Regions from separate parts of the Homo sapiens genome. Here all the other regions are linked to region 1. The links are contacts of gene promoters, found by promoter capture Hi-C in blood cells and fetal thymus (Javierre and others, 2016). All regions are on one chromosome and are shown on one strand. The core of a region is centred on a gene start or on the middle of the fragment in contact, and the rest is flanking DNA. Distances in the headings are between cores, read along the strand shown. Region 1 holds the start of C4BPA (complement component 4 binding protein alpha). Region 2 overlaps CR1 (complement C3b/C4b receptor 1 (Knops blood group)). Region 3 overlaps CR1 (complement C3b/C4b receptor 1 (Knops blood group)). Region 4 overlaps CR1 (complement C3b/C4b receptor 1 (Knops blood group)). Region 5 overlaps CR2 (complement C3d receptor 2). Region 6 has its middle 8.3 kb from the start of CR2. Region 7 has its middle 26 kb from the start of CR2.

What was found. Contacts are between HindIII fragments. The CHiCAGO score rates a contact against its expected background, and 5 or more counts as called.
Region 2: a fragment that was not itself captured here is called in contact with the fragment with the promoter of C4BPA in region 1 in 1 of 17 cell types (erythroblasts); the score reaches 5.3 in erythroblasts.
Region 3: a fragment that was not itself captured here is called in contact with the fragment with the promoter of C4BPA in region 1 in 12 of 17 cell types (erythroblasts, megakaryocytes, M2 macrophages and 9 more); the score reaches 14.0 in erythroblasts.
Region 4: a fragment that was not itself captured here is called in contact with the fragment with the promoter of C4BPA in region 1 in 14 of 17 cell types (naive B cells, naive CD4 T cells, M2 macrophages and 11 more); the score reaches 9.9 in naive B cells.
Region 5: a contact is called between a fragment that was not itself captured here and the fragment with the promoter of C4BPA in region 1, in 16 of 17 cell types (naive B cells, endothelial precursors, total B cells and 13 more). The highest score is 17.1, in naive B cells.
Region 6: a contact is called between a fragment that was not itself captured here and the fragment with the promoter of C4BPA in region 1, in 16 of 17 cell types (erythroblasts, naive CD4 T cells, neutrophils and 13 more). The highest score is 10.9, in erythroblasts.
Region 7: a contact is called between a fragment that was not itself captured here and the fragment with the promoter of C4BPA in region 1, in 14 of 17 cell types (naive CD8 T cells, endothelial precursors, neutrophils and 11 more). The highest score is 14.3, in naive CD8 T cells.

Annotation. Positions count from the first base shown.
Region 1 is chr1:207,102,406-207,106,661 of GRCh38, forward strand. It overlaps C4BPA (complement component 4 binding protein alpha), which reads left to right and starts at 1,828. Exons shown (of 12, transcript NM_000715.4): 1 at 1,828-2,025. The HindIII fragment of the contact is 2,080 bases long and covers 1-2,052 here.
Region 2 is chr1:207,593,339-207,597,594 of GRCh38, forward strand. The region is part of intron 35 of CR1 (complement C3b/C4b receptor 1 (Knops blood group)); the gene reads left to right. Among named protein-coding and RNA genes, the nearest start is that of CR1L, 50 kb to the right of the region's middle. The HindIII fragment of the contact is 656 bases long and covers 2,180-2,835 here.
Region 3 is chr1:207,563,110-207,567,365 of GRCh38, forward strand. CR1 (complement C3b/C4b receptor 1 (Knops blood group)) reads left to right here. Exons shown (of 47, transcript NM_000651.6): 22 at 755-931; 23 at 1,023-1,125; 24 at 2,729-2,814. Among named protein-coding and RNA genes, the nearest start is that of CR1, 69 kb to the left of the region's middle. The HindIII fragment of the contact is 1,317 bases long and covers 1,770-3,086 here.
Region 4 is chr1:207,518,892-207,523,147 of GRCh38, forward strand. The region is part of intron 4 of CR1 (complement C3b/C4b receptor 1 (Knops blood group)); the gene reads left to right. Among named protein-coding and RNA genes, the nearest start is that of CR1, 25 kb to the left of the region's middle. The HindIII fragment of the contact is 3,356 bases long and covers 749-4,104 here.
Region 5 is chr1:207,463,525-207,467,780 of GRCh38, forward strand. It overlaps CR2 (complement C3d receptor 2), which reads left to right. Exons shown (of 20, transcript NM_001006658.3): 2 at 3,002-3,388. Among named protein-coding and RNA genes, the nearest start is that of CR2, 11 kb to the left of the region's middle. The HindIII fragment of the contact is 1,394 bases long and covers 1,167-2,560 here.
Region 6 is chr1:207,443,851-207,448,106 of GRCh38, forward strand. No RefSeq gene overlaps it. Among named protein-coding and RNA genes, the nearest start is that of CR2, 8.3 kb to the right of the region's middle. The HindIII fragment of the contact is 7,026 bases long and covers 1-4,256 here.
Region 7 is chr1:207,426,643-207,430,898 of GRCh38, forward strand. No RefSeq gene overlaps it. Among named protein-coding and RNA genes, the nearest start is that of CR2, 26 kb to the right of the region's middle. The HindIII fragment of the contact is 3,250 bases long and covers 913-4,162 here.

The DNA.
Region 1 (4,256 bases), core at 578-3,077:
TCTTTGGATGTGCTGAGGGTGAAGTGCTTGCAAGATGTCCAGTGGGGGGAAAAAAAAAACAAAACCTAAGAAAGTAAGTCTTGAGTTTCGGAGAGTAATCAGAAATAATAATGTAGTGCTGGCTAGTCTTCTTACTGGTAATAGTTAAAGCTGTGACAGAAGGCAAGATCATTAAAATTGCGAAGATAATTTTTTTAAAAAAAGAAGAGCCTGAGATATATCTATATTTAGGAATGAGAAGGAGGAAGAGAAGGTAACAGTAACTAAGAAAGAGAAATTAGTTAAGTTAAGGGAATCAGGTAAGTTTAGTGTCATGGAAGCCAAAGGAGAAGAGAGTTTCAGAAAGGAAATGATCAGCAGTGACAAAGGCTGCAGACAGATCCTAAGAAATGAATTAAAGATATTTTGGACTTGGACCTAAGGGCGTGCCTCAGAGAGACATGTCAGTAGAAGAGTGGTAGAAGCCAGATGGGAAAGCAACAGGTGGAGTGATGAATGAGAAAGAACAGGCAGGTAGAACAAGTCACACCTTTGAGAAGTTCAGCATCACACTAAAGAAGAAAGGTGGAATTTGAGGTATTGGCAAAATTGAAGGGACATTTCAGGATGAGAGATGCATTGAAAATGAGGCAGGAAAAGAAGAAACAATTCTCCTCGGAATGAGGAGTGAATAGGAGGGAAAATTTGACATTGATGAAGCTAAGGTAGAATGATTTTTAGTAAAGTAGGAGGTAAGAGCATCTGCTGAGAGGGAATGTGACAATTTGGTGACCTGGAGAGAAAAATCTGCAAGAGTCACTGTGGAAAGTAAACGAAAGGACTTCAATACATTGGAAAACGGTACTTTAAAGAAATAGCAGCTTTAAAGGTGATATTTCTTCCAATTTAGTCTCAAGACTGTGCAATCTGGAATCCTCCTCTATCTTCATTCTGGTCAAATCAGTGTCTCACCTTGGTGACCTAGCGCATGGTTTCTTTACATCTAATATCCTTACCACTTTTATCTAATAATTTCTACCTTTTATCCAAATCTCACATCTTCTGTAGAAACTTCCTTGATTAACTCAACCTGTTGTAGTTTAGTTCCTTTTCTGAAACTCTTCTGGGACTTTCAGTATTTATTACAGAAAAAGTGAAGTTCTCAGAAAGAATTGCCTTTTAATAGCAATCTTCTGAGCACACAAATCTTAACCTTGAGGATTAGTAGCTTAATTGGACTATGTAAGTGCTTGTGGTCTTTTTAGATCTATGCGAGAGGAAACATGGCCGGTCCTTCATTGCGTTCTTCTGAGCGCACTGGATAGATCAATTTTTGGAGGCCCTCTGGTGCCTGACATGTAGTAGCAGTTAACATTTGCTGAACTCCAAATACGTTCTAGATAACTCAGCACATAGTGGAAACCCAATGCATGTTTGATAAATTCCCCACCTTTTGTAATTCCTTGGGGTGGGATAGAGACGAGCTCTGGGCAAGAATATCAGTTTTCAAACTCCAGGAAAGCATACTGGACCTAGTGTCATGGAAAGTGGATCATTTTTGCGGAGGCTCTCTGAACCTCGCAGTATCCAAGGTTTCCAGGCTAGCTGGACTGTGTCTTGCCATAACCCTTATGTGTTTATGAAAAGAAAAAAGAATTCTGGCTTCAAATTCAAATTACCTTTCCACTTAGGGGAAATGGTTGGCAGAGGAGAAAATAAACGATTGCGACATGTTACGAAGAATGAGGACTAGCAAAGAGGAAGGAGCTTAGGTAAACAGTGCTGCTTTATTTCTGCTGTTAATCATTCATTGGGCCCGTCAAAAGTTTCTGCCCATCTATTTCCATCAACCGTCCTTGACCAGCCAACCACATGGCTGAAATTCAGGGACTCTTTGGTGGAGCAATTACCAGTCAACTTCAGGGTATTATGATAAACTCTGATCTGGGGAGGAACCAGGACTACATAGATCAAGGCAGTTTTCTTCTTTGAGAAACTATCCCAGATATCATCATAGAGTCTTCTGCTCTTCCTCAACTACCAAAGGTCGGTGGACTACTAAACCCTTGGGGAAGCTTGGAGGAAAGGCTGGTGGTTTGGCCCTTTAAGGAGTGCAGGATTAGAAGGATAAAACAGAGACAAAAGCTTGGAGGTGTTTTCAGCAGAAATCTTTTCAGGAGCACTGTATTAGGGGGATGTAAGACTTGAGACGTACTTTAAACCCTATCTGAACCTCAAGTTTTAAAAATTATAAATGGAGGAATAATATTGCATTCTAATAAAATAAGCTAAAGAAGAAGAGGTGTAAGGTGTTGCTCTTGTTACTGTATCTAAAAGACAGATGTGTTGGTTTGTTGATCTTTCACCACCTTCCCACATCAGAGTTGAGGCAAGGGGTCAATCAGACTTTTCAAAGGGTTCACAGGAAGCTTGCTTTTCTTAGTCTACATTCTGAAAACTGGGGCCATTTCTATTTTGAGATTTGATTAACCACTCCAAATCTCCTCCACCACTGACAGCAAAGATGTTTAGATTTGGTAATAAGGAGGACACTGGCCAGCCTCCAGTTGGTTTCTGAAGCTAGCAGTCTTAGTCGTCCTCATCTTCTTTACTTTCTGAATTTGACGATGCTGATAACCCTTCCTTCTTGAAATTCTCTTCTTCCTTGGTTGGCCAGGATACAGTACCATTCTGGTCCTCATTTTAATTCTTCAACCACTTGTCTCTTTGCTGATTCCTATTCTATCTCTAAATATGGTAACACCAAAAGAATAAAAAGTAGACTACAGAAGAGGCAGAAGCATCAAAGAAGGTTGGCATTAAGCTTAGAGATATGTTTGAATGTAGTATGAGCACAGAATAAAGGGGCTGATAGAAAAATAAAGAGATTTGGCCAGGTACGGTGGCTCACTCCTGTAATCCCAGCACTTTGGGAGGCCGAGGCTGGCGGATCACCTGAGGTCGGGAGTTCGAGACCAGCCTGACCAACATGGAGAACCCCTGTCTCTACTAAAATTACAAAATTAGCCAGGCATGGTGGCACATGTCTGTAATCCCAGCTACTTGGGAGGCTGAGGCAGGAGGATCATTTGAACCAGGGAGGCAGAGGTTGGGGTGAGCTGAGATCGTGCCATTGCACTCTAGTCTGGGCAACAAGAGTGAAACTCCACCTCAAAAAAAAAAAAAAAAGAAAAAAAAAAGAGATTCTAGGAAGGGTGGGGAAAGTGTGGGAGCCAGTTCTTTCTGGAGTTTGTAAGTGATATAATTGAGAGCCCAGGTATAAGGAAGAAGACACTCAGCCCGAGACTGGAGAAAAATACTATCCTTTCACAAGGTATCTGCATTTTAAAAGGGGGAAGTTAGACAAAATAAATATTAACTTAAAAAGTAACTTCTCATGGAAGGAGAAATTTGAGGACTAAAGATTTTTCCAGTGACTCTCAAATTGCACTGCATTGCTAAGTGCTGATATTATTTTTCACAAGGGACCCGCCATGCTGACTAAAGTTCTTGAGTTGGTTCCATTTCTGCAGGAATTTAAAAGGTGAAGTCCTTGAAATATGAAAGTTGGCTAGAGTAGTCTCAGCTTTTCAGTGAGCAGTTACAGAATTGCAGAATTTGTTCATCTAGGTTTAATGTCATTATTTTAGAGATGGAGGGAACTGATATCCAAGAAGCTGATATAGCTTCTTCAAGATCACAGACTTAGACTGTGGTATTGCTGGAACTCCAACTTGTGTCTTCTCAGCTCGCAAGTTCTAGCCTCCATTCCCATACTCTGTGGCCAGCTGGTTTCTGCTGAGGGACCACCAGGAGTAGTTATGGTGAACTGCAAATGCCGTAGTTGGAGAAGAGTTAGGATGCATCCTGATGGTTTGTTAGGGAAGTCTAGTCACTGTATTATCTCTCTTCAAAACTGACAAAGCATTTCACACACATTATTTCATTTGGTCCTCAGTGAGACAGTCATTCTCATTCTAAAGATAAAATTAAATTGACTTTCATTCCTTTTAGATTTATTATTGTTTATTCTGTCTTATTCCTTCCTCCGTGTAAGTTTTTTTTTTTTTTTTGAAACGGAGTCTCGCTTTGTTGCCCAGACTGGAGTGCGGTGGTGCAATCTCTGCTCACTGCAAGCTCCGTCTCCCGGGTTCACAGGCCATTCTCCTGCCTCAGCCTCCCGAGTAGCTGGGACTACAGGCGCCCGCCACCACGCCCAGCTAATTTTTTGTCTTTTTAGTAGAGACAGGGTTTCACCGTGTTAGCCAGGATGGTCT
Region 2 (4,256 bases), core at 1,258-3,757, 490 kb after region 1:
CAAAAACAAGCAATGGGGAAAGGATTCCCTATTTAATAAATGGTGTTGGGAAAACTGGCTAGCCAGATGCAGAAAACTGAAGCTGGACCCCTTCCTTTACATCTTATACAAAAACTAACTCAAGATGTATTAAAGACTTAAATGTAAGACCTAAAACTATAAAAACCCTAGAAGAAAACCTAGGCAATACCATTCAGGACATAGGCATGGGCAAAGACTTCATTACTAAAACACCAAAAGCAATGGTAACAAAAACCAAAATTGACAAATGGGATCTAATGAAACTAAAGAGCTTCTGCACAGCAAGAGAAACTATCATCAGAGTGAACAGACAACCTACAGAATGGGAGAAAATTTTTGCAATCCATCCATATGACAAAGGACTAATATCCAGAATCTACAAGGAACTTAAACAAATTTACAAGAAAAAACAACCCTATCGAAAAGAGGGCAAAGGATATGAACAGACATTTCTCAAAAGAAGACATTTATGCAGCCAACAAACATGAAAAAAAGCTCATCATCACTGGTCATTAGAGAAATGCAAATCAAAACCACATTGAGATACCATCTTGGGCCAGTTAGAATGGCAATCACTAAAAAGTCAGGAAACAACAGATGCTGGAGAGGATGTGGAGAAATAGAAATGCTTTTACACTGTTGGTGGGAGTGTAAATTCGTTCAACCATTGTGGATGACAGTGTGGTGATTCCTCAAGGATCTAGAACCAGAAATACCATTTGACCCAGCAATCCCATTACTGAGTATATACCCAAAGGATTATAAATCATCCTTCTATAAAGACACATGCACACGTATGTTTATTGCAGCACTGTTCACAATAGCAAAGACTTGGAACCAACCCAAATGCCCATCAATGATAGACTGGATAAAGAAAATGTGGCACATATACACCATGGAATACTATGCAGCCATAAAAAAGGATGAGTTCATGTCCTTTGCAGGGACATTTATGAAGCTAGAAACCATCATTCTCAGCAAACTAACACAAGAACAGAAAACCAACCACCGCATGTTCTCATTCCTAAGTGGGAGTTGAACAATGAGAACACATGGACACACCGAGGGGAACATCACACAGTGGGGCCCGTCAGAGGGTAGGAGTCCAGGGGAGGGATAGCATTAGGAGAAATAGCCAATGTAGATGATGGGTTGATGGTGCAGCAAACCACCATGACATGTGTATACCTATGTAACAAACCTGCACGTCCTGCACATGTATCCCAGAATTTAAAGTATGATAATAAAAAAAAGACTGTGTACTCATTTTTGGTTGCCATGATAAATTCAGAGAGGAAAAACATGATATATATTAAATTTTACTGCAACAACTAACTGCCCCTTGTCATCAGCCTATTCTGTCACTAGAGTGAGTCAGTATTCCTCTTTTCTGACTGTCTGAGCCTGGACGATTTAAACTGCTTTTCACACAACCTCTTGCCCAACCTTTTCTCACCTCCCATTGTGAATGAACATAGATTTCCCTATGGTAAACAAAACAAAATATCACCAAATCTAAGGCAAGATAAAGAAATTGAAGATAAAAGAAACCAACCCAAGAGATCAGAGAAATATTCATCTGCACAACAGCTTCCTCCAATAAACAGGGGACAATCTTTAAAAATCTCTCATATGTGTTTGTAACATAGAATCGATGGAACTATATGAGGCATTTATAAGATTTAATGATCTGATATCAGAAAAGTTGAGATTTGAATGAAACACATGGGAGTCGGAAAAGGAGTGATGACTGGTAGATTGGAGCCTGCCCCCAACCCCCGGAAAAAAAAAAAAAAAACACCAAAGGGATAATGAAGACAAGATTGAATTCTCCAGAATTCATCAAGGACCAGACTTGAAATGACACATATATACACACAAACACACTACACACAAACACACAGGGATATAATATAGAAATTCCAGAAAAAATAAAAGAAAGCAGAATGAATAGAAGCATTAATTAGCACATAATGGAAGACAATTTCTCAGGCTATAAAGAAAAATACTAAGTTGATCCTTGAAGGCTTACTAGACAAATCAAGATTAACAACAATGGGCCCCGGCCCTACATGGAAGAAAATTATGCCATCCAAATATAAAAAAATACTGCCACTCTCCAGAAATAACAAAAAAGAAGAAATTCATCTTAGCACCAAGCTTCCGTTCTGTAACACTAAGTAGTAGAAGTTAGTGTTTGAGAGGAAATATTGTACAATAAAATTTCTGTACTCGGCCAAGCTGCCATTCATCTGCAAGGCACAGATGCATCGTCTTAAATAAGAAGGAACCCCAAACATACACCAGTTAGATATACTGCCTACAAAAAGAAAAACTCCCACAAAGCTGTGGGAGTTTTTCTTTTTGAAGAAGAAATCAAAATTCCAAATGGTGTTGTATCAAAGAAATATTAATGAGGCACAAAACTAGTTAAATGGGGTCACTAAAACTGTTTTATTTAATATGGAAATAAAATATCAAAGCAGGACTAATTCTTGAAAGATAATTCATGTAATATGAAAAGAAGAAGAAACTTGATATAAAAAATAGATTTTATCACTTCAGCTAGGAAGTTAGAGATGAAGTAAGAAAAACCATCATAAACTTATCATATGTAGGGGACACATATTCTTGACATAAAAAATAAGGAGAAAATGGTACTTCACACCAGTATAAAATCTATATATCTATATCTATATATATCTATATCTATATCTATATATATATATATAATCAAATTTTAAAAGATAATCAGAAGGGCGAAACCACTTGGTCCATAAAACAAAAGAGGGGTGAGAGAAACAAGAGCTAGCAAGCTTTCTGTCTCTCTTTTGGGAAACTAGCATTATTACGTTAAAGTGAATTAATACATGTATTTTAATGCCTCAGTTTTTCTTTCTAATATAATAAATATTAACAGATATAAACTCCATTGGTAAAATCACTTTGAGGTCCTTAATACTTCTTAAAGTGGCCGGGCGCTGTGGCTCATGCCTGTAATCCCAGCACTTTGGGAGGCTGAGGCGGGCAGAACACCTGAGGTCGGGAGTTCAAGACCAGCCTGGCCAACATGGAGAAACCCTGTCTCTACTAAAAAATACAAAATTAGCCAGGTGTGGTGGCGCATGCCTGTAATCCCAGCTACTCGGGAGGCTGAGGCAGGAGAATCACTTGAACCCGGGAGGCGGAGGTTGCAGTGAGCCGAGATGGTGCCACTGCACCCCAGCCTGGGCAACAAGAGCGAAACTCTGTCTCAAAAAATAATAATAATAATAATAACAATAACAATAACAAAAATGTTTAAGAGTGAAAAGAATTCTTGAGACCAAAAAAGTTTAAGAACTAGGGCTTGATGATGTTCAAGCAAAGATAGGAAAAGGCTATTGCAAGTACGGTACAAAGCACAGGGGGAAGGTTTCATAAGTATATATATAATATATATATAATATAACATAAAATTCATATATATTATAAAAATAATAAATATGATATAAATTTGATATAAAATATTATATAAATCTGATTTTTAACATATTTTGATTTTATACTGGTGTAAAGTACTATTTTCTCTTTATTTTTTACATCAAGAATATGTATCCCCTACATAGTATAAGTTTATCATAGTTTTTCTTACTTCATTCCTAACTTCCTAGTTGTAGTGATAAAATCTATTATTTTATATCAATAAAAATATTGATATAAATTTTATTTACATGATATACAATATTTAAATATAACATATTTTATATTACAAAATATACTACTATGTATTACAAAAAAAAAAACAAACTCCATTTAGCAGAGCAAGAATGGAGTTTGTTTTGTACAGTGCTGAGTTCCAACCCATAGAATTGTTAAATAAATAAAAAGGAAAGAACACTATAAGATCAAACTCATCAGTTATAATAGTAAATGTGAATGATTCCAATCCCCCCTTTTGAAAGACAAAGGCTTCTAAATATGGTCAGAATCCTATTTACAGTAGCACCAAAAAGAATAAAATACTTAGGAATCAATTTAATCAAGGAGGCACAAGACCTGTGCACTGAAAACTCAGTAACTGAAAATGAGCAAATGATGTGATAGACATGTCTCCAAGGGAAATATACAAATGCCCAATAAACACATCAAAAGATGTTCAACATCATTAGTCATTAGGGAAGTGCAAGTCAACCTGACTTTGTACTAGGATGTTTTGTATTAGGATGGTTATAATATTTTTAAAAAATAGGAAA
Region 3 (4,256 bases), core at 1,178-3,677, 460 kb after region 1:
GAGATCCAAATGTGTTTTGATTTCCCAAGATCAGATCAACTACATTAAGAGAGAGCCTGAGATGCCGTTACAATATGTTGTGTGAAATTACACTCTCATTATGGTGACAGTAGGTCTTTCAGATTTTGTTCGACAGTTTCCCACCTTCTCACTGAAGTGAAATGAATGACTAGGCAGCACCTGCTACATAGCATGAAGAGAGGAGACCCATAGTTCTTTACCACCCTATGTCAGGTGGCCGCTGAGAGAAGACTTGAAAGGAGATGAGCATAGATGTATGGACGCTCTTTGTTGCACCAGTGTGATAGGTGATGGAGGGACCTATTAGATGGGACATGGGCAGGGGCACTCCTTTATTGCTTAAAATGCAAGACTAAATTGGTGATGCCTTTCTAGAAAGGAAGTATGAAGATACAAAAATCCATCATTCCTCCCAATTTTGTACTGGGTGAACAGTAATTGGAAGCATTCTAGAAGGAACTGTCCATTGTGAAATCTTAGTTGCATACTTTAGATGAAAAACAATGAATTGGAGATACCTCTGTTTTAGTCACAGTTGTGCCATGTGTCAGTTCTATGACTGATGGCAAGACATCTTCCTTGCCCCGTGTATTTAGTTTATCAATGTAATAAGGCTGTTATTCTAACTTTATTATTATATATAGATTCGTAATTATTATTCCCTTGGCCAGTTTAACAGTGAGAAAAAAGTTGTTTTCACACAATTAGCTGTACTTTGTTTCTCTCTCCCCAGTATGTCAGCCACCTCCAGATGTCCTGCATGCTGAGCGTACCCAAAGGGACAAGGACAACTTTTCACCCGGGCAGGAAGTGTTCTACAGCTGTGAGCCCGGCTATGACCTCAGAGGGGCTGCGTCTATGCGCTGCACACCCCAGGGAGACTGGAGCCCTGCAGCCCCCACATGTGAAGGTGACTAGACTCTTATCTGGCTTGATATTTTTAGCTTGCGTCTTTATTCTCCACATGCCAGTGATTTCTGTTCGTTTTTCTTTATCTCCAGTGAAATCCTGTGATGACTTCATGGGCCAACTTCTTAATGGCCGTGTGCTATTTCCAGTAAATCTCCAGCTTGGAGCAAAAGTGGATTTTGTTTGTGATGAAGGGTGAGTATGAGCTTGCCTGACCTGCTGGACATTGAAATTGGGGTTGGGAATCAGTCTAAAAAGGGGAGATTTGGTGTGGCTTAAAAGAAAGACACACACACACACACACACCTTCAGAGAGATGAACTTTCGAAAGTATACCTAGGAAGAAAGGAAAGAAACATATAGAACTAATAACATGAGATATGAAGAGGAAACTGGAACATATATTAACTGGCAAGTTCAAAGGCAAGTATAACTAGTGGTTATGAATATATAGGTAACACATTAAGCAAAAAATATCAGCCAGGCACGGTGGCTCACGTGTGTAATCCCAGCACCTTTGGGAGGTTGAGGCAGGCAGATCACCTGAGGTCAGGAGTTGGAGACCAGCCTGGACAACATGGTGAAACCCTGTCTCTACTAAAAATACAAAAGTTAGCTGGGTTTGGTGGCATGTGCCTGTAATCCCAGCTACTCCGGAGGCTGAGGCACCAGAATCACTTGAACCTGGGAGGTGGAGTTTGCAGTGAGCCGAGATGGCACCATTGCACTCCAGCGTGAACAATGAGTGAAACTCCATCTCAGGAAAAAAATCATATTTTACAAGCAAAAGGGAATATGAGTAATTTAGAGAGTCCCAGGAAAAATTGCAAGTAATGAAAAGCTTATTATTAAAAGCTAGGATCCTTTAAGAATCATTTCAGTAAATTCTTTAAACCATCAACAGTGAAATTTGTAATAGGACTGAAAATGTAAAAATCAGCATTTTTTTAAAAATTCAGTCATATATCTTCTGGCTAGTCATGGGCTCTGGGCTCTGAGCTGGGGTCGTGATGGCTGCTGTTAATATTCCCAGCAAGGTCATTACCTTGTTTATGTCCATCTAGTGCTCTTCACAGCGTGCACATCTCTACACAGGAGCTGACCGGCATGGGCAACAAAGCACCTGATCCCATAATGTAACACAGAATCTTGGCAGCCTCCAAATGCCAGCACCCAGTAAGAGTTAGGAGGGCATCAGGGTCCAAAAGACTGAGAATTTTCGACAATTGCATACAAAAATCATGTCCTCTCTTCTTTCCTTTTTCCCCTAGAATATTCATGCTTACTCTTCAGCAGCCCAAACTGCCCTTTTGAGCCTTCTTCACGCCATCACAGATGTGGAGATGAAAGGACAATCTCTGTTCTCTCGCCAGCTATTTCCCACTTTTCCACTCCAAACTGGGAGCTGTTTTACTTGCTGTTCCAGGGTCAGAGTTAGGAAGGCATTACATTAGAAGACTGGGTTTCTAATAACAACAATGAGTGATTTATCAGGTTATCATGGAGTAATCAGTGAAACTCCAAGCCTGGGTCCTGGGTCAAGGGGATGGCGCCTATGTCATGACCACCTTTTTCAATTCAAGCAGGACTATCATGTGACCAAGCTACTACATTTTGCCATTCTATATTGTTCCCTTCTGGAGGCTGTGATTTTTCCAGAATAAGGTAGCCTGTGCAACTCTGCCATCTGCTGGCCTCAGATCCTCAAAATCCTGAAATTGGGGCTGGGCCTTAGATTGTGAACTAAGTGTCCTCTTGGCTGAAACAGCTCACTATTCACTCCTATTTTCTTCTTTAGATTTCAATTAAAAGGCAGCTCTGCTAGTTATTGTGTCTTGGCTGGAATGGAAAGCCTTTGGAATAGCAGTGTTCCAGTGTGTGAACGTGAGTAATAGGAGCAACATTTCAGGCCAATCTCTCCCCTTCATCTGTTCACTATTTGTCCTATGGCCTCCCTCAATGTGATTCTTCAATATTCTAGTCTTAATTATCGATTTAAAAATAGTTTATTTTAATAATGTTTGGTTGTGAATCAATATGTACATCACCTGTCTTTGCAACCATCTGATCTGTCTCTGTCCTTCTGCATTCTCTGTTCTAGTGCGATAAATCCTTTGGTCTTGTGCTCCTAGGTCAGGAGAGATTAGATAATGTGAAGCTTTAACAATTTTCTTTCTTTCTCTAGTTTTTTCTTTCTTTTTTCTCTTCCTTCCATCCTTCAGTTCTTTCTTCCCTTCTTCTCTCCTTCTCCCCTTTCTTCTTTCCTTCCTCCCTTCTTTCTTTTTCATTTTGTTCTCCCATCAAAGTGCAGTCAGTCTACAATTTATATATATATGATAATACACAAATATTGAACATGGCTTTATTTAATCAATATTTATTGATCACATACTTTGTGCCTGATGTTCATCTAGCCACTGGAGTTATATCAATGAACAAGATGGATGAATTCCCTGTCCCCATGTTGTTTCTACTTAGGTGGGGAGAGGGACAAGAAAAAAAATAAATTCAATGCTATGAGACAATAGAGCAAAGCACTGAGGAATGAGGCAAAAATGGGGAGCAACATTAGACAGGGTGAGCAGTTTGAGACTCCTTAAATTCTCAAAACATGTACCTAAATAATTTATGCTGAGAGATTCATAAATAATAAGTCATTTTTTTAAAATGAGCCTCATATGTTCAATAATCAGTAGACTACTGATTTCTCCTAGTCTACCCATGTATAATTTCCCCAATGGAAGATAGAACTTTGCTTCAATTCTTGATTCTAATGATTGGAAAACGTGTTTCTTTAGAAAATCATGAAATTTTACTAAAATGTTTATGTTGTTAGAAATATACTTGGACATCTTACAGTGATTTTTAGAGTAAAATTTTGGAAGAACATAACTTATATAGAGATTCTTGCTGTCTAAGAAATCCAGTGCTCCTTGAAGCAGTATGACAAGTGTCTGTTCTACTATCATGAATGAAAGCTCATTAACTGGACTACTCAAGCTTTCTCTTATTTTTCATAACTCTTGCTAGTTAAAATAGTTTCTTCCAAATGCCAGTTCTAATGAAAAATGCCAATTAGAAATGAGGAAGAGACTGTTCTAAACAAATCATTAGATGCTAGAAAGGAGTAACAACTTGAAACCTGACCCAGAGAGTAAAAAGAGAAAATAAATCATCAACAGACCTAGACATTTTCAAAAGCAAAGCCATCTGAATCCATTTGGAGTTTTTTTTTTTTTTTTATCATGGCCTGACTATGTTTCAATTCACTGTGACAGGGCTATTGTTATCACTGAGATTGATGATCAATATCAATAAGTAATCAG
Region 4 (4,256 bases), core at 1,177-3,676, 420 kb after region 1:
TAAGGAGGACAGTGGTTATTCAACCCATTACAATCCCCAACTACAACTATGAATTTGTCTGTCTTTCCTCTTTGTTCTAGCAATTTTTACTTTATGTATTTTAAACATGTTATTAAATGCATGAAATTTTTGGTTTATTCTTTCTGCTGAATTGACTATTTTATCATAATGAAATGTCTCTCTTTACCTCTCATAATACTTCTTACCTTAAAATCTACTTTGCATATTAATACAGCTATATAAGCTTTCTTTATTGTTTTTATATTATATGTGTTTTAAATCTTTTACTTTCAGCCCTTCTTTGTCTTATATTTAAAGCTTGTCTCTTATAAACATCATATAGTAAGGTTTTGTTGTTTTATTCAGTCTTAGTTGTTCATTGGTGTGTTTGGAACATTAAAATTTAATAATAAAAATTAAAAATAAATAAATTTAATATAGTTACTGATATAAAGTCTAAGTCTTGGTATTTGTTTCATGTGTTTGTTCCTTTATTCCTCATTTCTCACATTTTTTAATTCATCAAGTATTTTTATTATTCTATTTCCCCAGTAGCTTTTAAGTTATATTCCATTTTTTATTCTTAAATGACTACTCTAGAGATAGACATCCTTGATTTACTATAGTCTGCTAAAATTGTACTTTTACCACTCTCCAAACAACGCAAGTACCGAAACTATTAATAGTTAATTCCATTTATGTCCTCCCCCTCTTTTTGTATTGTTGCCATACGTTTTGCAAAAAGAAAAGCTTCAGCTGAATTAAATTTAAAAGAGTTTAATTGAGCAATGAACGATTCGCAAATCAGGCAGCCTCCCGAGCCAAAGTAAGCGCAGAGACTCCAGCCCAGCTGCAATGGGGGAAGAGGATTTACCGACAGAAAAAGGAAACTGACGTACAGAAAACAGAAGTGAGGTACAGAAACAGCCGATTGGTTATAGCTCAGCGTTTGCCTTATTTGAAAACAGTTCAAACAGTTGGCCACATTTGATTGGCCAAAACTCGGTGATTGGCGTAAGAGTAGTCTGCGGTCTGTTTACATCTTCACTTGTTATAGTTTGCAGTTTACAGAGAAACCTTTAGGCTGAGCTTAAACTACGTAAGGCTTTAGGCTAAACTTGATTTAACGATTTACATATATTCTATATTTCAAAGACACTGTTGTCTTTATAAAAACAGTATTTATTTATATTTACACCTTAGTGAATTCTTAGAATTTTTATGTTGCCTCAGCATCCATTTAGAATATGTTTAGCTTTCTCATGCCAGAAGCAGGGCTTAGTCACCCTTAATGCCCTTTCTAGTTCTGTACCTCCTCCCAATTTTGCAACGTGGTCGAGCCAGATATCTGCCTTATACAACTGCCTCCTGGTGACCACCTCTCTATGGGACAGCTAGATAAAACCTACTTGACTAGCGTCCCTGACCTCTGTGCCCTGCATGGACTTCGCAGATATGCTGCCGTGACCACCTCTCAGTCGCAGCACGACTGCCTGGAACATGTGCCTGCTTTCTTTAAACTCACCAATTAGAACTCCCCATGGGAGATACCTTGGCTTGTAGATGCAAGATGCTGGGTCATACTCTGGTCCCCAATAAAGGCATTGGCTGATGGGTCCCCTTCTCTCTGTCTGTCTCCTCGCGCTGACCAACCTCTGTGTGATCTTCAGGCGTGCCATACCCCCAGCCCGTAATAAAATCTTTACTGCCATCTTGTGTTTCTTGTAATGACTGAAGAGGTTTTCTCTATCATAAAGATCCTAAATGAAAACATACCCGCATATGAGCTCTTTCTGGTGTGTTTCCTTCTTATTGCAATTCTGTCAATTCTATATGAAACTATTTTCCTTCAGCCTGAAAAAGTCTCTTTGGCATTTTTGTATTGTAGAGCTTCTGACAACAAATTCTTTAAACATTTTTCTAAGTGTGGTTCCTCTGAAGGTTATTGTCCATGTTTCCTGGCTGCTTTTAAAATGGATTACACTTTAAAACAGATTTTTTACAATATTATTGTGTTGTGTCTAGGTAAGAATTTCTTTGTATTGCTTGGGTTTGCACATTTTTTTTTTTTTGGTTGTTTTTTTTTTTTTTTTTTTTTTTTTGACAGAATTTCACTCTTATCACCTGGGCTGGAGTGCAGTGGTGGGATATCTCGGCTCACTGCAACCTCCGCCTCCGGGGTTCAAGTTATCCTCCCACTTCAGCCTTCCAAGTAGCTGCAATTACAGGCCTGTGCCTCCATGCCTGGCTAATTTTTACCCTTTTAGTAGAGATGGGTTTTCACCATGTTGACCAGGCTGGTCTCAAACTCCTGACAAGAGGTGATCTGCCCACCTCGGCCTCCCAAACTGCTGGGATTACAGGCATGAGCCACCGTGCCAGGCCTGTATAGCCTTTTGAACCTGTAATTTAATGATGTCTTGCATCAGTCTTGGAAAATTCTCAGTTATTAATTCTTCAAATGTTGTTTATGCTCAGTTCTCTCTCTCTTCTCATCGAGGGACTTCAGTTAAACATGCTAGGCTTTATTCTTCTATGTATTTAGTCTGTATTTTTTAATCTTTTTATATATTGGTGCTTGGTTTTGAGTATTTTCTTCTGTCCTAGCTTCCGGTTCATTGATTTTCTTTCAGAGTCTAACCTGCTATTAATCTCACACAAATTCTTAATTTCAGCAATCATATTTTACTTTTACAATTCTAGACTTTTTATTTTCCAAATCTGCCCTCTTCCTTTTTTTTTTTTTTTTTTTTTTTTTTGAGACAGGGTCTCACTTTGTTGCCCAGGTTGGAGCACAGTAGCATAATCATAGCTCACTGCAGCCTCAACCTTCACAGGCTCAAGCAATTCTCCCACCTCAGCCACCTGAGTAGCTGGGAATGCAGGTGTGCACCACCACACCTACACATCTGGATAATATATATATATATATATATGTATATATACTTTTTTTTTTTTGTCGAGACAGGGTTTCGCCATGTTGCCCAGGCTGGTCTCAAACTCCTGAGCTCAAACGATCCACTCTCCTCAGCCTCCCATAGCGTTAGAATTACAGGCGTGAGCCACCACATCCCACCCTGTTCTTTTTAATAGTTTCTAGTTCTTACAAGTTTCAATTATACCCTTGAACAGGTCTGTAGTTCTAATGGGTCAGTTTCTGTCATCAGTAATTGTGTGTGTTATTTTATCTCTCCAAATATCTGGTTATCTTTGATTGTGTATCAGGAATTCTATTTGAAAACTGTGTCTGTAGAAATAATTTCAAGGCCTTAGATAACCCATCTTCTTCCAGATGGAATTTTTGTCATTGTTTCTGCAGGCATCTGGGGACATTAGCAATCTAGGACCACTCTAATTCAGTCTCAGGAACTGTGATTTTCCAGGGCCACCCACAGTACCAGTACTTGAAGTACTAGTTCCAGTCTCTGAGACAGCAAATTTATTTTCAGTTAACCCTGATTACCAGGGCCTAGTTCTTGTGGCCTCAGAACACATCAGAAGGTATTACCAGGCCTTCCATTTGGGGCAGGCCCTGGACTTCCATTGTTGTCCCTTAACTTCATGAGAAAATCAAAAGTCTGTTCAGCCTCTCAGTTGCCCCGTCCTGATTCAGCTGCCCATTCCCAAACAATAAGCAGCCCAGTTGCCAAGCCCAAATACCCAGCTCTCAACTGGATTCTCATCTTCTCCTAGATCATGGCCCAGGAATGCTTCACTAGTTTGTTAGCTTTCTGATGCTTTAACAGATAAATATTTTTAATTCTCCAGTATTTCTAGCCTTTCTTGAGGGTGGATGGTTGGAGCAATATTTTATTTGAACTGTTGAGATTACTATTAGTAGAAGCAGAGCCTGAAAAATTTTTATTTTTAATTTTAATTCATTCATTTCTAAATTTATCCAATTAAATTCACTCAGTTTTAATTTCAAGTGTTTTGGGATTTGGGTTGAAGAAATTTTGTTCTAGTTTATAGCAACACAGTATACTATGTACTACTGCTATACTTTAAAATGTATTTAGGGGTTTTTGTGGACTAATATATGATCACTTTTACACAGATATCATCTTATGATATCAAACTTAGATTTGATGAAATGAGTTGGTAAGCTTCATATCTTTTATATGTTGTGAAACCTTGAAATTACATTTGGAAGTATATTTTTGAATGAATTTTGGTAATTTGTATTTCCATTTATATCATTTAGATTTTCAAAATATTTAACCCCCTGTAGTCTACAGTTTTATAAATATTCTCAT
Region 5 (4,256 bases), core at 614-3,113, 360 kb after region 1:
TTAATCTGTCACCCCTGCTTGTCATAAATGATATTCTATTCTCTGCTATTCTTTCAGTAGAGAAAGAACTAAGTTTTTCTAAAATGTAAGTCTAGCTGGGAGATGATCACTCTTTATTTTTATTTTTATTTTAAGTTCTGGGGTACATGTGCAGGATGTGCAGTTTTGTTACAGGGTAAACGTGTGCCGCGAGATTTCTTATCTCTTTGTCTTTAGATATCTACTCTTTGGTGACTCATCTGCTACATGTATTATCTCAGACAATATTGTAACCTGGGATAATGACATGCCTTTTAATGAATGTAAGTAAAACAATCTCTTTATTGCACCCTATTTAATTCCTCTTGTCCCCTTCCAGAGGGAAATTGAGCATCTGCACACCAAAGTGAGTAGCCAGGAGGGTTTACACTTGGTTTGAGTAGCTCTAGGCACACAGCTATGACTTACCCATCTTCCTCATGGCCCCCAATCCTACCACACGTTCCTTTGTTTACTGTCCTTTGATTATAAGTTATTTCATAGTGAGTAAATGCTTACATCTAAAACATTCCAGGAGATTACACACTGCCAACTTTATTCCATGCAAAAAGTAAGCCACCCTAGGTCCCTTCTATAACAATTTATCTGTGGTCTGGGGCGGGGACTGGTGACCAGCTCATAGCTTTTCGGTTTTTATCAGCCAGTTCCATATATCTTTTGACCTTGCTACTTCCTATTTAGAATCATCTTTGAGATCAGGATACAGAATTTCAACAAAATAGGTAAATTGTAGGCTGAGTTGCAGTTTGGATTGCAAGAATGAAGAGAAAATTCTCAGAAAGTATAATATTCTCTCTTTCCCCACCTACTCCTTAAAAAGGTATTCCTTGTAAGTCACTCCCAGCCATCCCCCATGGGACTTTGACAGCAGCAGCAGGGAGAGGGGTTTGCTATGAAATCATCAGTGCCATATTGGATGTAATAGGGAAAAGCTGTTTGACCTCTTGGATGAGAAGTCAATGCATTGCACCAGCAAAGATAATCAAGTTGATGTCTGGAGCTCTGGAGCAACCCTCCTCTTCAGTGTATTACTCTTACTTGAATGCTCAATTATAGAAGTTGAAAATGGAGTTGTGGAATCTGGATTATGTTCATTTTTTTAAAATGATACATGATATTTAAGTGTAAGCTTGGTTTTACCCTGAAAGGCAGCAATGTAATATGGTGTCAACTAAACAGCAAACAGAATCCTCTACTGCCAAAGTGCTTCAGGGGTGAGTTGGGCTGAAACTTCAGGATCTAGAAATAAAACAAGGTTTTTCTGGGAAATAGATATATGGTACCTATGGAAAGAGCAGAAGGAAGATAGTATATGTGGTTGAGTTTTCTAGTTAAAGAGTTTTTTATTGTTATTGTTTGTTTTGTGTTTCTGTTTTTGTTTTTTTGAGATGGAGTCTCGCTCAGTCGCCCAGGCTGGAGTGCAATGGCGTGATCTTGGCTCACTGCAACCTCCACCTCCTGGGTTCAAGCGATTCTCCTGTCTCAGCCTCCCGAGTAGCTGGGATTACAGGCATCCAACATCATGCCTGGCTAATTTTTGTATTTTTGTAGAGATGGGGTTTCACCATGTTGACCAGGCTGGTCTTGAACTCCTGACCTCAGGTGATCCACCTGCCTCAGCCTCCCAAAGTGCTGGGATTACAGACGTGAACCACCACACCCTGCCTAGTTAAAGAGTTTAAAAGTAAACTTTGAAAGTAATATCTAAATGTTGCAGATGTAGGACTTTTTCTTCTTTTGTATTTTGGGGCAGTGCTAGATCTGTGTTATTGTAGGGGAAATTAAAAGATGCTTTTTTAAAAAAGCAGATAGCACCAAAGTCAATGATTAGAGATTTTTTCATACATATATATATATATAATTATCACATCTTATCCATAGGTGTGCTTTGAACATATATATGCCACTCTTCTCTGTCTTCTGGAATGCAGACCAAAGATGTTAAATTGATTCAGTTGAGTATATATTATACTGCAGATTCTATATGTATAAAGACAACAGTTCTCGAAAGTTACCCTTACTGAAACCAAGTATAGCACTGATGTGATGAAACAGTTTGGCTGTATCTTCTTATGTCAGTTTTCACTGAAGACCTCCTCTTGGAGCCAAAGGGAAGTTAACTGAAAGTTCTAGAGGTTGGCAATTTTCCCTTTATTCTGAGACTCCCTCAGAAAAGGCGTGCATAACAAAGTAAATGTAAACAATATCCTTCATGGTTATTAGGACAAGTAAATGAAGAATATGAGGCCATTATTCAAAACCTCTGTTCACTTCCTGTGGCTTTTTCAAAGTGTTCCAGCCTCAAGTCAGGACAAATCACCTGTACTGAGGCTCTAGCATCTTCAGCAGCAGGACCAAAAGTGGTCATCTCAGCCTGTACCCCCAGTTGTGTGTTTGAAGCAGCCATTGAATAATTAGTATGTTCCAGGTATTGTACTTTCTCTGTTCATGTACTTTTAGCACTGGATTCTCACTATACCTTATGAAGTAGTTTGCGTTATACTATAGACTAAGAAACTGAAGCTTAAAGAGAGTAAGACTTGCCTGAGGTCACACAGCTATTGAATGACCGTGGGGAGTTGAAACTAGGTCCACTGAGCTCAAATTTCCCTAATCCATGGTACCTCCCCACATGTAACTATCATGCCACTAATATGTTATTTTCATGTGCTGAATTTGCCTTTTGTTTCATTATTAAAATTGATTAGACTCAGAACTTTTGGATATATTCTTTTCATTATTATTGTTTGGTCAAGATGATTTATGTTGATCTGTTTGCTGAGGATCAAGAAAAAGGTAAGAATTTAGGAGTTTGGGAGTAAGCAGGGAATAAATAAACTATACATATTTCTAAGTCTGTTTCTGAAAAAGTTATGTGATCTATATTTGGATATTTTACCTACATTTGAATATTTTCTCACCATGATCAGTATGCCTACCAAGTTCCTTTTCTACTTTTCAGGGATTTCTTGTGGCTCTCCTCCGCCTATCCTAAATGGCCGGATTAGTTATTATTCTACCCCCATTGCTGTTGGTACCGTGATAAGGTACAGTTGTTCAGGTACCTTCCGCCTCATTGGAGAAAAAAGTCTATTATGCATAACTAAAGACAAAGTGGATGGAACCTGGGATAAACCTGCTCCTAAATGTGAATATTTCAATAAATATTCTTCTTGCCCTGAGCCCATAGTACCAGGAGGATACAAAATTAGAGGCTCTACACCCTACAGACATGGTGATTCTGTGACATTTGCCTGTAAAACCAACTTCTCCATGAACGGAAACAAGTCTGTTTGGTGTCAAGCAAATAATATGTGGGGGCCGACACGACTACCAACCTGTGTAAGTGGTGAGTATGAAAAGAAAGCTGGGTTGGGAGGTTGGGGTCTTGCCTTTCTGTGCAGACCACGTTTTGTACCCTCCTGAAGGACAAACAGTGTGAACATGTAATGATGAGGGTGGAAGAAGGAAACAAGGGAAAAGGTGAAAGTTATGGCTTCTTCGTGGAGGCATATAACTGCTCGTTCAAAAAACATCAATTGAGCAAAGGAGTTTAAAGTACATGGAAAAATGTAATTAAACACACCTAATAATTGAGTAGGGTAAGTTTTGCAAGGATGGGGTCAGAGTTTGTTGGGGATGTGGGAATGGGGTGGTTTTCAACTGTATATCTGTGTTACTGTTAAAATGAGAAGAACGGTGGGATCTTATAGCAAAAATACACCCAATGGATTTGAAATTAATGTATAAGTAGCTGCTAACACAGTCTAGCACAGGTGATATCCTGCTCTCTGTGGTCTCTGTAAACATGTTTTGAAGTTATCCACTATTTCCCCAAGTCATCTTCTGAGCCATCACATTTCAAATAAATGCCTTTGAAAATAGGGACCTACTGTAAATTATTCATTCCTTCTCTTTTGGTTTGGTTTATGTTGCTGCTGAAATATAAATCTGAATTTGAATTCCACAATTACAAGAAATGGCAATATTTGACAAAAATTATACTATCAAATTAGGTATTTTCTTAATAAAGAACAATATTGACAAATTTTAAGCAGATTAAAGAGCTGACAAAACTGTTAAATTAGTATAAAATGGGATTCTGTTTATTGATTGATTGATTGATAAATAGCCTTGGAGGAAGGAGATCTTAACGATAGTTACAAAGGGCAATGGCTGCTGAAAACAGTTAAGCCTTTGTAACAATTTAGACAGAC
Region 6 (4,256 bases), core at 948-3,447, 340 kb after region 1:
AAAAATAAAATTTTACTTTGTAAAATTGTAAAATTTCACTTGGTAAACTTGTATGTATATTTCAATTAACTACCAATTATCTGTATATCTTGGCAGTGTCTTTTCTCAATCTTCAGTGAAAAAGTTTTTAAAAACTTGATTGCTGATAAATTAGGGAAGGGAAAGTAATTTATTTTTAATAAAATACTATTCTAAATGTTTCAGATTTAGTTTTGTGTCATCACTAAATTATATTAAGTTACATCACTAAAGTAAATTAGTTTATTAAAGTTCTTTTTAAACTGAAGTCTCGGTAAAGAAGATCAACTATAGGACTTCTCCACATGTCAGGGAGAAGTAGAAATAAAGATGATGAGACATGACCAATCCTGTGTCTTCTTGAAGCCAAAGATATTTGTTTAAATGAAGATTTGGATAAACTCCAAGGTAAACAAAAGGGCTATTAAGAAAAGGTAGGGAATTCTGGAAGGAGTGTGAAAGGACACCCTCTTCCACTACTTACTGGCCCCTCACTGTTCTTCAGTATCACGGCCACCTCTGGAGGCAGACATAGGATGACCCGATGACAGCAATCCATCTCTGTTCCCAAAGGGTATTCTGCATCCCTTAAAACTGTGAGGGGTCAAGCCTTTGTTTCAGTACCTCATAAACACAAAATCTGAAATAAGTAAAATACAGTAAAATATGATATGCAAATCCATGAGTTTTGCAGGAAGACAGGTCCAAATGGCAGGAAAATCTCTTTCTGCTTTGACTGGAAGGAATGAAAACAGAAATGGTGATGAAATGCCTGCAAAGCATTAGGCAGTTTGGAAAGTCCCTGCAAATGTCCCTGTCCCCCATCCTCCAGACCACCCCACACCATTATCACGACTAGCAACATGACCAGGTCACACAGATGTTTGACCATTTTTGTGGACTGCTCATTGATTAGCATTATGTGACAGAAGTATTCCGAGGCAGCTTACTGCTTACTGTAGAAGGTGCTGGTTTTCAGCGAAGATAGTCAAGTGGTTTGGAAGGGGAAAGAATTATCTTAGCCGGAATCTAGACACTGATTCTACTCATTCTGATACTACATTAATTCTGCTTTGCAAAGGGGAAAGAATATTCCTTCTTATTTGACTCCTAAATGAACTTCTTTCACTATTTTGAGGGCCCAACATCCCACACACCCCAGGCCAGTGCGGAAACCCCCTAAAGGAAGCAGTTCCTCTTCTTTTTGGATAACTGGCCAGATTTTTTTCCAGGAAATCTCTAGGATTCATTTTGTTTTTTTACATATGACTTTTATGTTGTATTCAAGATACCCAAACTCTAAGTAATGTAAGTTTATTAGATTGCAAAACATTGCAACTGTTTTAAAACTCCATATTAGTGTCATGACAGGAAACCATAACTGATTTTTAAAATACTTGAATTGGGAAAAATTAAGTCTCATGGAGAGTGATTCTCTTCTCTTGCAGCCACCTGCATGGTCTCTACCATGCCCCTACACTTGCTATGTGTTCTTGGCAATACCCCAGGAGGTTCAGACAATAGCTCATCAACACTGAGAACCACAACTTGCAGATGTGGTAGCCCCATTTACACAATGGCAATTGCTTTGTGCTGGAGCAAGGATCTCATCCACAACCTATGGTCTAAGGGTAACTTGTGCATAAATAGAATTCTGCTGTAAGGCAGGAGGACTAGAGATGGTTTAGAATGGCTTGATATCAATCTCCTTTATAATTCAGCAGAAGCTAGGAAGTTCCAAAGCTGATCATGGAAACAGATACTATCTTAGGATAAATCATAGATTGGGAAACATTTTGCTAAGGACTTCTGGTTGGTGCATTCTGGTTGCTGTTGACAGCAAACATACCCTCTCTTCTTGATCTATCTGCAGTAATGGCCCCTTATACCTTTCTAATATTCATCATTACTTTTATTTTTGTCCCTCTGTTTATTCTTGATCATTCTCACTGGTCATTTGACAAATTAATTAGATTTTTTAAGAACCCAACTTGGCTCCTGTTTTTGATGTCACTGATTTTTTGTTTTAATTTTACTATCTCCTTTCTTCGGATTTTTTTTTCTGACCTCTTAAGACAATATATCTAATATCTCTTTCTAAAACCCGCATTAGCTGTATCCCATAAATTTTAATGTTTTTTTCTCCTATGGCTCAGTTTGAAAAACACACTAATATATGTTCGTTTCTATTATGATTTTTTTCTGCCCTATGTATAAGTTAGACATGTCTATCTTAATTTTCAAACATACAGTTTTTAAAAAGTATTTATTGATTATTAATTTCTAGCTCAATGGCGTAGAGATCAGAGAACATATTCCACATGATTTCAATCTTTGAAGTTTTTCGAGACTTGCCCTATGATCTAGCTTGCAATCAATTTTTGTACATTAGCTTTCTGTATCTGAAAAAGGATGTCTTCTGCATTTATCAGGCGCAGTGTTCTATAAGTTCCCTATGCCTTGCAAGTTAATCATGTATAAATTTTCAATTTATTTGCTAATTTTATCAACTTATTCTATCAATTATCAACAGATAAAATGTATCTGTGAATTTAAATTTGCATTGTAAATTTGTCTGTTTCTTCTTGTAGTTCTGTTGAATTTGTCTTAAATGTTTTGAAGATACACTATTATATGTAGAAAAACTTAAAATTATTATATCATCTAAGTGAACTGTTCTTAAATTTTCTTTTGTCAACAATTGATATAATTACATATATCTTTTACTACTGTTTACATAACATATCTTTTTCCATTACTGATTTTCAAGTTTTCTTTATCTTTAGGGTTTTTTAAATACAGTTTTATTAAACCATAATTCATATACCATGCAATTCATCCATTTAAAGTATGCAATTCAATGACTTTTAGTATATTTACAAATACATTTAGTCATTACTAGAGTCCATTTTAGAACATTTTCATCACCTGAAGAATACTCTTTTAGTGTCATCCTCTATCCACTCCCTATTATCCATCCTCCCTTTATACTCCCCTCCGCTGCTAAGCAATCACTGATCTATTTCCTGTCTCTATAGATTTTCCTGTTGCAGACTTTCACGTGAATGGAATCATATAATGTGTGGACTTTTGTTATTGGCTTCCTCCAGTTAGCATAATGTTTTCATGCCTCATCCAAGTTGTAACATATCAGTACATCATTCCATCTTATGGTTTTTTCCGTTATGTGGATGTACACACTTTGTTTATCCATCAATCCGTTGATTGACATTTGAGTCATCTCTACCTTTTGACTGTTATGAATAATGCTGCTATGAACATTCATGTACAAGTTTTTGTGTGAACATATGCTTTCATTTCTATTGGGTATTTACCTAGGAGAGGAATTGCTGGGTTTAATCATTTGAGAAACTACCAGATTGCTTTCCAAAGTACCTGCACCATTTGATATTCCTGCCAGCAGTGTACAAGGGTTCCAGTTTCACTACATCCTCATCAGCACTTTTTATTATCTGATTGTTTAATTTCAGCCATCCTGGTGAGCTTTGATTTCTGTTTCTAGTGGCCCGAAATTCTACAAGAATCAAAGCTCAAATTCTCCCACACCCCTAAAATGACCTAGTAGATTTCCACTTTCTCTTTTATGTTGCCCTAATAATTTCTCTTATACATTCTGATTATATATATTTATAGGGATATCTAGATAGATGATAGATAGATAGATATATAGATAGATAGGCAGGATGGATGGACAGATAGGATAGATAGATCGATCTAAACACACACACACACACACATACACACACACACACACACACACGTATTTCAGCACTTAGGGTTGTTTTCAGTGGAATAATTCATCCAGTTAACCTAGGACATAACATTACTGAAAATAGAATTCCATTCTTTTACCCATTTTAATTGGTATATCGTTCCTATGGGTATGTAGCAGTTCTTCACATGTTCTACATAACAGTCTCCTTTTTAGTTATATGTATTGCAGATGACTTATGTCTTATGTAAGTCATGTGGTTGTGCTCTTGTAATAATATATTTTAACAAATGAAGTTTTTAGTGTTAATATACTTGAATCCATCAAACTTTTCCTTTATCATTTGCATTTTCATGTCTATTATAAGAAATATTTCCTTACCCCAAGGTCATAAAAGTACTCTCATATATAGGTTCTTCTACATTTTTTAATGTCTTACCTTTCATGTTTAAGCCATCATCCATTGGGAATAGAATTAATATGTATGAGGTTTGGATTGATTTTA
Region 7 (4,256 bases), core at 1,288-3,787, 320 kb after region 1:
AATCCAGTGGAGAAATTTGATCCTGAAGGGGTAAAGGCCAAGTGGTAGCACTTACTCAACAGACCAGATGGAGGAGGTTATTGTAATTAACACCCAGGCAAAAAAGCAGTACTCAGAGTGGCTGATCCACAAATATACTTGGCATTGGCTAACTGAGTAAGTTGTCCCTTTGACTGATACAGGTAAATGATGAGTGGGCACATGTGGTCCCTGAACTTTTATGGCTATTTTCCAATTCAGGAATGCATAGTTGGAATACATATGCTCAATAACTTGTAGACTACAAATATTGTTTTCCTACACAGTTTATTTTCCTGGTAGGGAAGGACAATGGAAACCCTTAGAACTTCCTCTACTTACCAAAAGACTAAACCAAAAACAATACTACTTTCCTGGAAAAATTGCACAAATTAATGTAACCATCACTTATGATTTCTGCAACATATTCATTCATCTCACCTGCTTGGCCAATGCAGAAAATGATATTGGCTTAACATTAACTTAATGAAAGCCTGAATCCAATTAGAGCCAATAAGCATGTACCCTTCTACCTGCAATGCAGCTGTTGATTCAAAGTATTTTTCTCTTGACCTGTTAATAAAATACACCAGAAACAGTTTCTTTTCACCTGGCGTGGTTATTAACACATCTTTTCTGTTCTACTTTGGGTTGTATCAATTCTCTGTCTGTCTTAATCTATCTGTAGGGACCTTGTTCACCTCTTCATTCTAAAGAATATTATAGCCCTACGGCATGACTAGGGCAGAGAGAAACCCAGGAGGATAGTATAAGGAGAGCTACAATGATCATCAAGAGCCCGACAATGCAGCTTCTTGGAACCAAGAACTTTGAGGATATTAAGGATGTTGGTCCATAGCTTAAAAACAATGGAAAGCCTTTAACAATTTTGAAAGCTTCAGGGATAGATAAAATTGTGTGTGCAAGGGGAGTGGGGGTGACTTTTTTGTGATTTCAATAACAAGGAGGAATTTATTCTATCAAATAGAACAAAATGAGATTTGCATTTTGAAGATATCACTCTCTGTGTGATGTCAAAAATGAATATGAATGGGAGGCACAAAAATTGAAGGGACATCAATTAAAAGAAAAGTGCATTATTTTAAGATAGAGATGGTAGCTTGGAATATGCTGGCAGAAGATATGGGAAGTATGGATAAAGAGGTATTTTGAACAAAAAATAGATGGATCTCAAAGATGGATTAGATATTGGAGAATGAAAAGCATGAGATATCATGGATGAACCTGAGATTTGTAAATTAGGTGACTGGATGCATGATGGTACTATTCAATGAGATTAGAAACATTGGCAGGAACCAATAACTTTGGAGGGAGTGTAAGAATTAAAGAAAGAGGAAAGATACATGAAAGGTGGCTTGACAGTTAAGGACGGGTTTATTTTAGAGAAAACAAACATGAGAGGGGCTTCTGGCTGAGTTAGGTTAGAGCCTACTTTCTTAGAGACTAAGAGTTTTTAAGGATTCAGGGTGGAAGAGTTTATCAGAGGCTTGTACTCCTTCTGTGTTTCTTTGTTGCACTTATCTGGGAGGGAGAGCTTTGTGTCTGTTCCCATACATCTTCCTGCAGCTGCAGGCATACCCACCCTCCTCCCAAGTCTGCTTTTAGCTTCCCTTAGTGCACTTAAATGGAAAGGAATGTGCTTATTAAGGCCCACTGTTTTACTGGGGCCCATTGTATGAGGGTGAAGTTTGGCAGTTACCCAAGAGACTTCCCCACCACCTCCCTCTGTGCCCCAGCTGTCTTATCTGTATTTTACTGTCTGCTCTTTCTGGGCACTTGTTGTTAGAAGAAAAGTGATTTCCTTGAAATGCATGAGGCTAGAAAAAGAGCTGGAACTTAAAGTGGCAGTGTTTGTCCAAGATGATGGTGCTCCTGCTCTGTCAGGGAGGACTGAGTTTGGTGTTTGACATATTGATACTGAAGTATCCACATGGAGAGGCAAAATAAGGTATACAGGGTCTTAGGCTTAGAAGACAGGTGTGAGCTCAATTTAGAATTTTTCAAGTCATAGACGTAATAGATACATTTGCCTGTGGAGATATAATAGAATGTGAAAAGAGCCCAGGATTCAGCCTCGAGAAACTCCAACATTTAATCACCAGACAGAGGAGGATAAACTGGAAAAAAAGATATATATGTATATAGAGAGGAAGAATGACCAGAGAGCTAAGCAGATAACCAGCAGATAATGATATCTGGGGAAGACAGCAGAACAAATTGTTTCAAGAAGAAAACAGTGGTTAATGTCAAATTCCACCAAGAACTGAAAAATGTTCATTGGCTTTGGCAATATGAAGGTGATCGTTAGTCATAATGAGAGAGACAGAGGCTAAATCAAAGTAGGTTGAACATTAGTAAAAGGTGTTGAAAAGGACAGGCCATCTGTAACTCTTTCAAGACATTAAGAAATTTGGCTGAGGCTGGGCACAGTTGCTCACACCTGTAATCCCAGCACTTTGGGAGGCTGAGGTGGGGAGATCACGAGGTCAGGAGATTGAGACCATCTTGGCCAACATGGTGAAACCCCATCTCTACTAAAATACAAAAAAATTAGCCGGGTGTGGTGGTGCGTGCCTGTAATCTCAGCTACTTGGGAGGCTGAGGCAGGGGAATCACTTGAATCCAGGAGGTGGAGGTTTCAGTGAACTGAGATCAAGCCACTGCACTCCAGCCTGGGTGACAGAGCAAGACTCCGTCTCAAAAAGTTAAAAAAGAAAAAGAAAGAAAGAAAGAAAGAAAGAAAGAAAGAAAGAAAGAAAGAAAGAAAGAAAGAAAGAAAGAGAGAAAGAAGGAAAGAAAGAAAGAAAAAGAAATTTAGCTCTGAAAGTGAGGAGAAAGGGTTAGAAGTTGGGGGAAGAAAGTCTTTTGAGATTTTTTTTAGCTCTTTTAAATGTCACGGGGAATGATCCAATGTTAGAACACAGTTGAAAATACAGGCAAGAGTGGAATTGTTTGATAGTTAAATGTTTCTGAAAAATCAGGAAAGAGTAGAATCCAAGACCTCATGTGAAAGAACTGACCTTCAATAAGAGAAGAGAGAAAATGGAAAAAAGAAAAGATGAATGCAGATGGAGGTTCCTAGAGTTGCTAGCAGGAAATTGGGAGACTAGATCTCCGACGGCTTCTCAGTGAAGAAGGAGGTGAGAAGACAGGCAGAAAAGGGTCAGTTATGGTTGGAAGGGTGAGGAGTATAAAGAAGATACAAAGTAATCATTGATAAAGTGAATTAAAAAGAGGAAAACAATGGTAAGGTTGCCACACAAGGTTGAGTCTATTTGAAATTAGTTATCCTGAATTTATCCACCAGTGCAACCTGCCATGTGGCTCTATCTCAGTGCTTAGGTAAGGAAAGCAGAAAGTAACAATGATTGAGGTTTGGGATTTTCTAAACAGTTGCCATAAGGAAGCAGGCAAAGGAGTTTGTTACTGGCAGGAGTGCTGTTGAACTTGTGGTATAGACTTTTGACTGATTAAGGAAGGAACTGAAGAAAGAGTGGGCAAATAGATTAGAATAAGGGGAAAGGCGACAGAAAGTTCTCATGAAGTCAAACGAAGGTCAAGCAGTTTGACACTGAAATAGGTAAGCTGAATGCAGTGGAGATTGTATGTAGACAGCAGGATGTCTGAATTAGAGATTTTGGAAGTGGTGCCATATTAGGACATGACAAAGTCTAGGGTGTTACCAAGGGGGTATTTTGTTGGAAGTATCTGCTTGAAATCATGTTAAATTTAAACCTCACTCTCCAAAGTCAGTATAATTACACTTATAATTTTTAATCCTGGCATTGGCGTTTATACTGTCAAAAATAAATAAATCCAATAGGGATAAGTTTGCATATTCTGTCTCTAAATCCATTCCCACAAATTGCATTTACATGTCTTCAACTGATAGCAACTGTAACAATTTATATTTAGGCTTGCAGACTTCCTCTTGATGACATTCAAATTTTTTACCCATTTATCAGAATTTCCTAAAACTGTGGTTCACAACCTTCGTTGGTTATCAGAATCACCTGGGGAACTTTTAAATTCATAAATTCTCAGCCTGTTCTGATTCAGTGAACAGTGAACCTGATTCAGTAGTTCCCAGGTGGGGCATGAGAATCTGTACATTTAAAAAAAAAGCTTCCCAGGTGATTCTGACAATTGGTCAGGGATGACAAGCATTGCCCTCAGAGATGAGTAAGTATTCCTCAGTTGACCTGCCACTGACTTCT